4 separate regions of the Homo sapiens genome follow, and all the other regions are linked to region 2. Evidence: promoter capture Hi-C in 16 types of primary human blood cells and fetal thymus (Javierre and others, 2016). All regions are on one chromosome and are shown on one strand. Each heading gives the region's core, a stretch centred on a gene start or on the middle of the fragment in contact. The rest is flanking DNA. Distances are from core to core; before and after follow the strand shown.

Evidence for each region. Contacts are between HindIII fragments. The CHiCAGO score rates a contact against its expected background, and 5 or more counts as called.
Region 1: a contact is called between a fragment that was not itself captured here and the fragment with the promoter of METTL21C in region 2, in 3 of 17 cell types (naive CD8 T cells, naive CD4 T cells and total CD8 T cells). The highest score is 6.5, in naive CD8 T cells.
Region 3: a fragment that was not itself captured here is called in contact with the fragment with the promoter of METTL21C in region 2 in 2 of 17 cell types (naive CD4 T cells and total CD8 T cells); the score reaches 5.9 in naive CD4 T cells.
Region 4: a contact is called between a fragment that was not itself captured here and the fragment with the promoter of METTL21C in region 2, in 1 of 17 cell types (non-activated CD4 T cells). The highest score is 5.6, in non-activated CD4 T cells.

The regions. Positions count from the first base shown.
Region 1 is chr13:102,879,779-102,882,569 of GRCh38, forward strand. It overlaps the pseudogene METTL21EP. Among named protein-coding and RNA genes, the nearest start is that of ERCC5, 35 kb to the left of the region's middle. The HindIII fragment of the contact is 525 bases long and covers 1,228-1,752 here.
Region 2 is chr13:102,693,225-102,696,382 of GRCh38, forward strand. METTL21C (methyltransferase 21C, AARS1 lysine) reads right to left here and starts at 1,820. Exons shown (of 4, transcript NM_001010977.3): 1 at 1,145-1,820. The coding sequence starts at 1,274. The HindIII fragment of the contact is 1,740 bases long and covers 1,016-2,755 here.
Region 3 is chr13:102,821,602-102,824,660 of GRCh38, forward strand. BIVM (basic, immunoglobulin-like variable motif containing) reads left to right here. Exons shown (of 11, transcript NM_017693.4): 6 at 142-246; 7 at 464-558. BIVM-ERCC5 (BIVM-ERCC5 readthrough) reads left to right here. Exons shown (of 23, transcript NM_001204425.2): 4 at 142-246; 5 at 464-558. Among named protein-coding and RNA genes, the nearest start is that of BIVM-ERCC5, 16 kb to the left of the region's middle. The HindIII fragment of the contact is 2,607 bases long and covers 166-2,772 here.
Region 4 is chr13:102,561,763-102,564,892 of GRCh38, forward strand. No RefSeq gene overlaps it. Among named protein-coding and RNA genes, the nearest start is that of TPP2, 34 kb to the right of the region's middle. The HindIII fragment of the contact is 4,044 bases long and covers 1-3,130 here.

The DNA.
Region 1 (2,791 bases), core at 240-2,739, 190 kb after region 2:
ATGCAGATAGGTGACATGAAAAATATGTAGCGTTCATTTCCTAGAATGTCATAGCCACGGAGTCTTAGAATAACTCTTGGCATCCAAGTTAAAAGCTGGATCACTTCCTCCAAATAGTCTTCACTCACTTCCGGGAGTGGGTTGTATTCACCTTTAGCTCTGTTCACGAGACACTCGTGGGATATTCCTAGCCTTCTGCCCCCTTAGTTACGGGCATTGCCGTCTCACTGCTGTATAACCAGAGGCGTGGGAGCTGCAGCTGTCAGAATCCTAATCCCTTCTGCCTGGACTCGTTACCAGTGGTAGCGAGTGTGTATAGTAGTAAACTGTGCTGCGATGCTAGCCTTTCAGTCACTACCAGAGGTCCCAGCAGCAAAAACAAAAATTGTGGATGATACATTTTAACCTTCTAGAAACTCAGCTAACTCCTTTAGGTATGTCCAGGCTTTCCATTTAAATATCAGCCTTAAGGCAGACATGTCTTTCTTTAATGGAAGAGATCTAAATTGGGAGCAAAACATGTGACCACTTTTGCTATCGTTTTAGCTGTGTAGCCTCAATGACATAATTTAACCTTGGTTTTCCTGATTTGCAAACTGTAGGGAAAATAATGTCTTCTAACTTGCTGAAGTATGCTGTAAAAGAAAATGTGGTGGCTGTAAAATGTGCTTTGGGATTCTCGGAAGAAAGGAGTGCTATATTAATTCATGGTACTGCAATTGTTATTTTACCCCAGATTGAGAAGTAAAATATCAAATCGTTATTTTCTAAAGTTTGAATAACTGTTAAATTTATTCAGATAATCTGCTCTATTCAAGAGGCATAAATAGTTTCTTCAGTTTTAAATATATCGGCTGTGATGGTATGGACTCCTTAAGGTAGACGCTGCTCAAAAGATTATCTGGCAATGAGGCTGTTTGACATTGCATAGGTGCTAATGATGCATTGATGGTAACAAGTGAACTTTCAATGTTTTAATCGCCTCTTAAATTTTAGGATTGCAGTCTTACTAGTCAATATGAAGATGATGCCTTTCTTTGTTACAACTGAGGTAGTCTCTGGTGAAGAATATGTTTTCTTTCTGTAGTAGCTTTTTAAAATTTCTGACTCAGAAGCTTTTGTTCTGATTTTAATTTGTTCTAGATAGTGTTTAGATGGTCTTTCTTAAGTCACGCTTCGTTAATATATGATATTTTAATATAATTTTGTCTGCTGTATTTGAAGTTAAGCTTTATTAAGAAACTATAAAAGCACTCCATACATATTTTGAATTATTACCATTTGATATTTTAATGTATTATCTATCTAGTTTTCAAGAAATAATGAAGAAAACATCAATATATCACCTACCATCATTTCATTACTTGATGGATTCAGAAGCTCAAGAAGGTAAGTCATTTTATGTTTATGTAGCTTACCAATTCTAAGAAGACAAATAACTAATAGAATATAAAGTGTCACCTTTGTAGTATTCATTAATGTCTTAAATGGAGCTGACACTTTTATCAATGGCATATTATGTCTTGGTTTATATTTGTGAGCCTGCAAACATCTTGAATCATGTTTAAGTCTATTACTATACCATGATCTTGATGATATGTTAAAGATACTTTTGACAGATTAAATTAAATATATAGACTTACTAAGCATGTACAGGGTTTTTGATCTTCAAATAAGGAATACATTTTTTTCTCAAGTGCTGTACACTAAATGTATGATGTGATTTCTAAGCAAATTTTATTTCAGATAAGAAGCTTGCAAGAAAGATAAAAATAGTTTTATGTGAAAACTATAAGTTTTTACTGGTGGTTGGATGAAAGGTGAATTTAGGCTATACAGACATCTGTAGCCTGAGTTTATGGTTCCTCTAACTATTTATTAGAGGCAAATACATAATGTAATTTGACCTCTGGATGTAAAGAGATTAAGTTTGAATTCTACTATCAGTGTGGTTATTTGAAATTGAACCATCATTTTTATATAGTCTTAAGTATCAAGCGTGACTTTGCATGGGTTATGTAATATAACTGTCCCCATTGTCTTGAGATCAAAAGTACAGACATACACTCTTGACAGACTAGAAAAATTACCATATTTTTGTAGAGCAGTTGTAATACAAATCTAAATATCTTGATTTCTTTTGTTCTCTCCTTATCTGCACACACTGTAGATGTTTTCTGAACACTATAGTTCTGGTTTTTCTGTTTTTGGCCATTCCAGGTGGCTTCTACCTAGGAGAACACATCTTTAGGCCAAGAAAGCTGGGTGTATGCCCAGTGTTGGCAGCCTACCTGGCTTAAACACAAATAGTTTTACCAAGCGATTCTTGCAAACCTAACCATTTAAGTCGATCACTTAGAGAACCCAGCCATTTAGATGATTTGAATGAAGACGCAATTTCTGTATGGTTTATGAATAAAATTATATCATTATCATTACCATTAGTAACAATTCTTGGTTTCAACTGTGTAGAAGATAATTTGGCAAATTACAAAGGAAGTGGAAGAAGTTCAAGGTAAGGTTGAGACGGAACTAGCATTACAATGTTTTACAACACAAACAAACACACTCTGTAATCATCTATATAGCCAAATGAAGCTTTAAAAATGTGTTCACACACACAGAGCTAAGGGAATTAAGGATGTGCCCTTGGAGCAGATCAGGTGGCATTTAGTTGGAAAGCCATCACCAAGTAGAGGAACACTCAGTTCTCAAGTACTGAAGGATACTGACTTTTCCTGCCCTCTTTTATACTTAGAATCCTGTGCTTGGAAAGGATGGAGCAAACCCA
Region 2 (3,158 bases), core at 570-3,069:
TTGAGTGTTTATCAACTTTGCTTTTAATATACCTTTGTCTTTAATATAATCTATTTAATCATAAGATTCTAACTTAAATTTAAATGATGGTTATATATAACAATCAGCTACAAAAAATGCTGAAATTCAGGTGCCAGTACAAGCCGTCGCCAGCACACCACTGGGTGGTGGCTCAGAGCATCAGGGACCTGTACCAGCCCCTGCCGGCTTCCCTGCCCTGCCCCACTCTCATCCAGGCCATGCCTGTCCCTCCTTCCAAATGTCACCATCTGGGGACTTATTTTTCTCTAGAGACTAGGAAGAGTAAGTAGGCTGATTTTGAATGGCTCATCATTTCACAGGTAAATAAACTGACAAATATTAAGCTTGACAGCTGCACTTTTCCAATCAACATTGTAAGGAAACATAGACATACACGTATTCTCTCATAAGACCCTGTGAGGTTCTACAACGATAAAGAAACATATGTTTTTGTGCCTGAAATATTTTCATTTATTCTCTGTGCTATTCTGATAGTTTTAGAGAGATCAGATTTTCAGATAAGGTAGAGTTGCATTTTTACGTAAACAATGCAGTAAAAATAGACAACATTCTCATTTATTGGAGTTGGGATACATTTTTTACCACCTTTAATTATGAACACTGTAAATGCTGCATCTTGGCTTTTATTAGATCATTTGTTATGTCTATTATTTATTTACAACTGAATCCATGCCCAGAAATGTAACCCTAAACTGTTACATTGTCCTAACGGGGAAATACAGTTTGATTTATAAAGATTCACTGTATGACAAAGCTACCAAGAATGTATTTTGGTGAAAAGCAGAAATGAACCTAGATTTTTTGTTCTTCTTTTAAGTTCTTGTTACAAAAATACAGCAAGCTTAGATCTATACATAGAAAAAAAACAAATGTGCAAACTTTGATAAGTAATGAAAAACCAGGAATTACTTTTAATAAGTAAATAATGAAAAAACAGGAATTATGTTTATACTTGCAAAACATTTTTCTGCTAAGCTTCATTATAGCAAAAAATCTAATGTTAAAAGGAAATGGAAATTCTTGTCACTGAAATTTACTTGAAGATGTCATCGCCAGGAAAACAACTGAGGAAAACTGTTGAAGTGATGAAGAAGGAGGTTACCTTCTAGGACTCCCCCGGTGCTGTCTTTCTGCGGAGCCCCCTTCTTCTCAGCCTCTAACCAGCCACCCGGGGAGCTGAGTCCTTCCCCCCGGCGCCCAGGCTGCTGCGCGGAGCTCAGACACACGTCCATAGCCGGCTGTCCCAAAGACAGCTGTGCATTGAAAAGCAATCTACAAAAGAACGACTATAATCTACTGACTGACTGTTACTAGTTCAGCACATCTATGATCTACATCGCATGTTCGTAATTAATACAGAATTGGAAATGACTCCTTGTTAGTATGCCCAAAATAATTTTGAATTGTTACACGTATCTTTACCTTATGCAGCAGAAGAGATGTGAGGCTTCTGTGCACTCTTTAATCCCCAGTGTTTTATATAGGTCTACACCTGAAAGGATTAGCATTTGATGAACAAAATCCAGCCAGTGGAAGCCCAAGTTATTTAGGGTAGCATTATCTACCAGTCCTCATAGACACATTACTTTGCTAGAATTCTCTCTCTTTCTCTCTCTCTCTCTCTCTCTCTCTCTCACACACACACACACACACACACACACACGCACAGTCCTAGCAACATTCAATGGAATTCCCTTCAAAAGTTTCAGGAATATCACTGGAACAGAACAGAGGCTGCCCCTGTGGCATCCAGTTGCTGCGATGTGGTTCGAAACGTTAGACTTCCAGTTCACTTTTCAAAGAAGTGGGTGTTGGACAGTTGCACAGACTTGCAAATTTTGTGCTCATTTGCCAAACTCCAGTAGCCACAGGGAGGACATGCCCACCCAGCCTCTGCCTAGGACCCGTATCCAGGCAGCCAGAAAGAACACAAGGATCTACCAAGAGGAAGGGAATGCTTTGGGGAGGAAGAAAGGAGAGCATCTATCCATGAGAAGGGACGGGAGTCAAAGGCTTAACGTTGAATCTGGGGGATTTAGAGCAGAGGGAAGAGGAAATCAGAAAAACTCTTCCAAGAAAAAGTAAGCCATTGTGATTTATTTAACTGAAATAAGGGATAGTCAAAAGGGAAGGAGAAAAATCATGTGCTCATTTGTGAAGCTCAGAAACCCTTAAAATAGAATATAGGTCACACAAAGTAAAGCCTCAGACAAATGGGAATTAAAGAATCACTTGTGATAGGCTACATTCAACCAGGGAGTTGGATGAATGGTGTTTTAACCTGAGTAGATATAAAAGCCCATTTTTGTTTTTGTACCCACCCTCGGTACTCGTTTCTCTGGTGTCACTATTTTGTGTTCTTTATGTCAGTTTCTTTTCACTCAGGATGTTCATCTAGATGTGCTGTGGTCCCATGTAAATCACCTTTCCCACTTTCTTAAATGACTGGGGATAAGCCGGCATTTGTTCCAGCTCTATCGTTCTAATGCTTTCTTATTCCCCAAATGCATCTAGTTCTATGATTGCATTCTGCATCTCTGCAACTTATTTCTTCCAGGTGTCATCAGTCCCTATGAGAAATAGCAAAAAGATAGTCATCAGTACAATTCTACAAAAACCTTTTAAAAACTGATTGCAATGTACGTGAATATATGTGTGTATATTTATATGCATGTAGACACACACATAGACAAACATATGCGTTCATTCTACAAGCTTTAAAATGAAGCAAAGGACGAAGGAAAAAATGTTGATCTCCTTTAATTCTACTATCTAGAGAAAGAAACCTCACCAACTTTTTTTTTTGTATCAACTTCTAGGCTTATTTTTTTTGTATAAACTTTTTTAAAGCTATTTTACTGAAAATGTGACTTGATAGAAACATGTACCTCTTTAACCTAGCATCCTATTAAGAGTTCCTTTTTAGGATGAGTTCATGTCCTTTGCAGGGACATGGATGAAGCTGGAAACCATCATTCTCAGCAAACTAACACAGGAACAGAAAACCAAACACCACATGTTCTCACTCATAAGTGGGAGTCGAACAATGAGAACACATGGACACAGGGAGGGGAACATCACACACCTGGGCCTGTCAGGGGGTGGGGGACTTAGGG
Region 3 (3,059 bases), core at 219-2,718, 130 kb after region 2:
TAAAAAAATAAATAAAATAAAATAATGAAAAATATTACTAATATTATTTGCAAATCAGACAAGCATATTAACATTGAGACAGGCTGTATTTGCGTATGACTGGAATTGAAAAATGAAAGGCAATGAATGTTTCTTTTGTAGCCTTCCACCTATTACCCAAGAAGAAGCTTTACATATTCTGGGCTTTCAACCTCCATTTGAAGATATTAGGTTTGGTCCTTTCACGGGGAATACAACACTTATGAGGTATGAAGACCCTCTTAGAGGCAATATCGTGTTTCTAGTTTTGCAAAATAATAATGATGTAGATGTGTGTTGATAGTAAACCATGTATCCAGCTGCTGGGCTTCAACCTCTCATAGGTATACCAACTTTGGGCTATGCCTGAATTTCTTTAGAATTGGAATAATGCCATCTTTGTTGTAGAATTGTTGCCATGAACAAATCTTCTTGTTACTTTCAGGTGGTTTAGACAAATTAATGACCACTTCCATGTAAAAGGATGCTCTTATGTTCTATATAAGCCTCATGGGAAGAATAAAACAGCAGGAGAAACTGGTAGGTAAACATATAGAAGATTTACATACACACATACACACATGCACACACACACATACACACACACGGTTTAGAGTTCGTCTCAAAGACTGCCTGTTTAGCTTCCTGGGACATTATGTAAACCCTCAGCACAGTCTGTTACTTGCATGTAATCTGTAGGGCACTTTTTAATAAGCAGTTTAATATTTTACCTCTTCTAACCTTTTTATGTAGAACCTTTAGAACTTTAAGGTATATCACAAACACTACTCTAACACATTGTATTGTTTGGGTCCGTGGTGTGTGTGTGTGTTTGTGTGTGTATGTATGTGCGTGTGTACGCGCACATGCTAGTAAAACTCTAAGGAAGCAGCATGGAGTTAGCAGTTTTCTTCCTAAGAAGGAATGTAAGGATTTGAGAATATTTGATGTTAGACCTGTGTGGTGACATATAATGGCAGGAAAATAGACTGTTGAAGTGACAAAGTTCTGCTATAAAATAGTCTTGTTTATAACAGAAATATTAATGGAGTTGATCTCAAGGATTATTTTAGTTATGTGCTAATTAAATAATTTGTACTATTTAGCAATTTCCATTTTTAAAATTGTTACAATCTTTTGACTGTGTAAATCAGAAAATTGTAATACATTGTTAAAGAAAAAATTATTCTGACACTTGTTAATAGGGTGAGAAGACTTTATTTTAAACTTGTGAAAGGCCTATTGTAGTAGGAATGAGAGATCAGGCTCAGCTCTGAATACAGCAAAGACAACAAAGACAACTGGGACTTTATAGCCAAGGGACACAGCGAGGGGTTTGGGGGTGGGATATTACTAAGAGGGTCAAGGGTATGGGGATTCTTGCTAAAGCCTAACAGACTTCTTGCTAAAGGCAGGTCAAGGGCTGAGACATCAGGAGTTGGCAGGGGACGTCCGTAAGGAACTTGATTAGATATTAAGGGTTGTGGGTTCTCTCTAAACTGACTTAGCAGGATTCATGCTAAAACTGGACACAGAAGTCTAAGGTCCAGGCCTGTTTGAGAAGAGGACTCAAGGATTAATCAGGAAGAGAATTGTTATCAATAGAGGGTATATGGTTTACCAAGGTAAAAGACTGAGCACAAAGTCAGATATATTTCTGTTGACCTATATTGGGTATATCAGGTTGGTTACTTGGAGGCAGGCTTGGAGATTACATGTTGCTTTCTACACATACTAGTTTTGTGACCTTGAACAAGTCACTTGCTGAGCCTTGATGTAGACCTTTTATCTTTCTATATTTGTATAGGGTCAGTGTGAGGATAAAAGGAGACATACTTGTAATGTACTTAGCACGCTGTGTTACAGAGTAAGGACTCAGTAAGTGCTAGCATTTATTCCTACTGACTAAATTCTATGCATTCACATGGGGCCTGTCTATCCTTCTGGAAAACACAGCTTTAAATGCTGTGTTGCTATTTATTTCTGTTTCTAGTGAGACTGTCACCACACTACTCTCAGTAAGTGATCAGGCAACGAAAAACTAAGAAAGGATATATTATCCTGTTTGGTAATTTTCTCTTCAGCTGTGTCTAGTTTGCTTTTTATACTGCCTATTGAGTTTGAGTTTTTTAAAAGAGGTTTTCAATCATTTTTATTCTAAAATATGTAGTTCTTTTAAAAATCTGCTTTTAAAAATAACCTCATTCCTTACTCATATTTTCAAACCCTTTTATTTTTTAAATCTATTGAAACTTTTTCCTCTGTATTTGGTGTAATGTAGGAAATGTGTATATATCTGATTTTGCTGTCTCTTGTTTCTTCTGGATCTTATTTGAGGTGTCTTCGTGTGCCATGAAAAGAAAATGCATAATTTGGCATTGTCTTTTATAGTTCTTGAATGTTTACTTCCACAGGATGTGCCAAACCTTTTTCTGGTCCAAAAGATTTTTATGGTCATTCTCCAGTTATTAGAAGGTATAATAATGATTCTGTCAGTTGTGTTCATTAAAAGTTTTATAAAATGTCTGCCAATGACATTTTGCACCCTGTAAACTGAATACATAGCAGTTCAGTGAAAGCAAGTGAGAGGGTAAGGGGTGTCAAGGCACAGTAATTAGCAACCTGAGCTGGCACCACCATGTGGAGTTCCTGCCCCTCTCTCAGGATAGCACATGTGTGACCTGGGACCTTTGGATGTAGGGTTGTATAGTGTAGACAGCATCCACACTCAATCCACAGAATAAATACTAGTAAAGCTTAATTTCTTTTTAAAATATGAGGGTCACTATAAATAAATGTTCTAATATTTTGTTTCTGTGCCCACAAAGGGGGTCATCTTGTATAACCACCTGGATGTGTCGGTACTGAAAATCATTAACCTAGAGGAGCAGTAGTTGGCAAATGTTTTTACATAAAAGGCTTGATAGTAAATATTCTTGGCTTTGAGAGACACATGGTTCTGGGGCAGTCACAGCTGCTTGATGCAGCTGCTTGGATCTTGAAGGCAGCCATAGACAACATGTAAACAAATGGATATGGTG
Region 4 (3,130 bases), core at 623-3,122, 130 kb before region 2:
TGAAATCTTTCTGTTTGTATGATATAGGCATTTATTGCTATAAACTTTCCCCTTAATACTGCTTTTGCTATATCCCATAAGTTTTGCTGTGTTGTATTTCTACTATCATTTATTTAAATAATTTTTTAAATTTTCTTCTTAATTTCTTAATTGACCCATTGGTCACTCGGGAGCATGTTGTTTAATTTCCATGTATTTGTAAAGTTTCAAAAGTTCTTGTTATTGATTTCTAGTTTTATCCCATTGTGTTCAGAAAAAAATACTTCATATGATTTAACTCCTTGTAAATTTGTTGAGACTTGTTTTGTGGCCTAACATGTGGTCTGTCCTGGAGAATGTTCCATGTGCTAATGAAAAGAATGTGTATTCTGCAGCTGTTGGTCCATTTGGTCTAAAGTACAGTTTAAAACCAACGTTTCTTTATTGATTTTCTGTCTGGATGATCTGCCCAATGCTGAGAGTGGGATGTTGAAGTCCCCAACTATAATTGAATCATAGTCTGTCTCTCCCTTTAGTTCTAGTATTTGCTTTATATATCTGGGTGCTCTGGTGTTGGGTGCATATATATTTACAGTTGTTATATCTTCTTGCTGAATTGATCCCTTTATCATTACATAATGAACTTCTTTATCTCTTTATACAGTTTTGACTTAAAGTCTACATTATGTCAAATAAATATAGCTACTCCTGCTTGCTTTTGGTTTCTGGTTTTTTGAAATATCTTTTTCTATCCTTTTATTTTCAGTCTACATGTTTCTTTATAGGCGAAGTGAGTTTCTTGTAGTACGATATAATTGGGTCATTTTTTTTATCCATTCACCCAGTCTATACCTTTTAAGTGGAAGATTAATTCATTTATATTCAAGATTAGTGTTGATAGATGATAAATTACTCCTGTCATCTTATTGTTTTCTGATTGTTTTATATATCCCTCTTTCCTTTCTTCTTTCTTTTGTGTTTATCATTGTGGTTTTGTGGTTTTCTGGAATTATAAGGGTTTTCTTTCTCTCTATCCCTTGTTTATCTGCTCTATCAGTGAGCTTTATACTTCTGTATGTTTTCATGAAGGTGATATAATCTTTGACTTCAAATGTAGTATTCCCTCGAGCATTTCTTGTAAGGCTGATCTAGCGATAATTAATTCCCTCAGGTTTTGCTTGTCTGGGAAATACTTTATTTCTCCCTCATTTTTGAAGGATAGCTTTGCTAGGTTCTTATATCTGTTTCTGTATTCAATATATTGTAACATGTTGTTTTGGTTAAAGTATATAAAGAACATTCAGATTAACAGAGACAAGTATTTGGAAAAGGTAGGAGTATTTTTAATTATCTTTTCAAATAATTACGGCTATTCTTCTTTGATACTACACCAGAATTCCGTAAGTGATAGTTTAGTAAAAGTTAGTCGCAATGTGGAATCTGAAATCATATTAATGAACCTTTTGTACTCTGTGACATTAAAATCCAATGGTCTTTCTTGCGATTAAAATAGATTTTTTACCTATGTATGATTTTATAACATCATGCATTGGTCATTTGGAATATATTGGTTCACTGAGTTAATTACTTCTTCCAAATGTGGACACATTTTACTTCAAAATATCAAAAAAAAAAAAAGTGTGTCAGTATCACCCCCAGTCTCAGTAAGTGCTGGGAAAGTGTTGAACTCACAGTGACAGACTCAAGTATCTAATTTTATCTTGAAAACTGAAACTTTATGATTGGCAAAAAACTGTCGGTTGTTTTCTTAAAAGTTGCAGGCTCCTAACAGGCAAATAACATGTGAAGGGGGAAGCACATAGCAACTTATATTATGAAAATAGTCTTGACCGCAAGGATCCCCTGAAAGGGTCTTGGACAACCTAAGGAGTCTAAGGATATATTTTGAAACTCACTCTTTTAACTACTTTAAATATTTTAAAGCAGAGAAAGAAAAAACAGGCAAAGAATAGACTAGCTAGAGAACTTACTGTAATACCTATGTGTATCCAACTTCCACAAAATTATAAATTTATTTATCATTTCTATTCTTACTTGAAAACCTTTTCAAGGATGCACTTTAATCCCTTAACTAAGAAGGTAGAATTACCTTTCTTGGGCTTGCAACAGCAGTTGGCCTTATGATATCAAGTACAAGGGCTGAGAGCTTCTTCCAGGATGATTCAATGTGAGCCATTCCCTGAGCAGCTTCTTACAGAAAAATAACTTAGCAGACGTAACTTCTTACACAGCTTTTTGTGATTAAGTTAAGATTCTGCAATATCTATCCAAATCCAACTTATACTTTTACAGTCTGAATTGAGTATACTAAATTCTACACCCTCAAGCTGGAGTTGCAACACTGTAAGACAACAATGTTTTATGAGATTCTATACTTCATATAGCTTATAAACAACTATTCATTAGTCATTATATTGGCAACTAATAGATATGCAACTTAATAGAGCCTTTTTAAAAATAAGAAAATCAATTTAAAGGAAATACTTTATTTTTATATTCCAAAATGAGCATTTTTGGAAAAATCCAAGACATTAGATTTTTGTAATGTTCTCCAAAAAAAGGTTAGAGAATGAAGAAAAACCCACTCATAACTGCATAATACAATAACTAATAACAATTTAAGTATGTCTTTCAAATAATCTTATACACACATTTTTACATAGGAGCAATCATAGTATACATAGATTTTAAAGAATTTTTTTAATTTAGCATTTATCATTAACAATTGTCCCAAAACTTCAAAATTGTTATTTTATCATGACATCAAGTGAATCATTTACTCATTCTCTAATAGCCAGATAGCCAGTTTGTTTCCAATGTTTTACTCTTACAAATAAAATTGTAATAAACACATCAGGCACATAATGAAGAAATGTTTAGGAGCAATGCCAGACAACTGGAAAAAGACTAGTGGAATCTTCGGTACAAGAGGCATTTTGCTACCTGGCGTGCTCACAAGATCACTAGGTTCTAAGTTCAGAGAAATAAGCAAATAGATACCACAGGAGGTAGAGCAGCAAAGAAACCCTGAAAATTAGGTAGCTGACCCAAGCTAGGGCTGCCTGGCCCTGAGCAAGGACACCCAACTAAGGTGGGAAGTGGTACGGGCACTCAGCCCATGCTTTTTCAG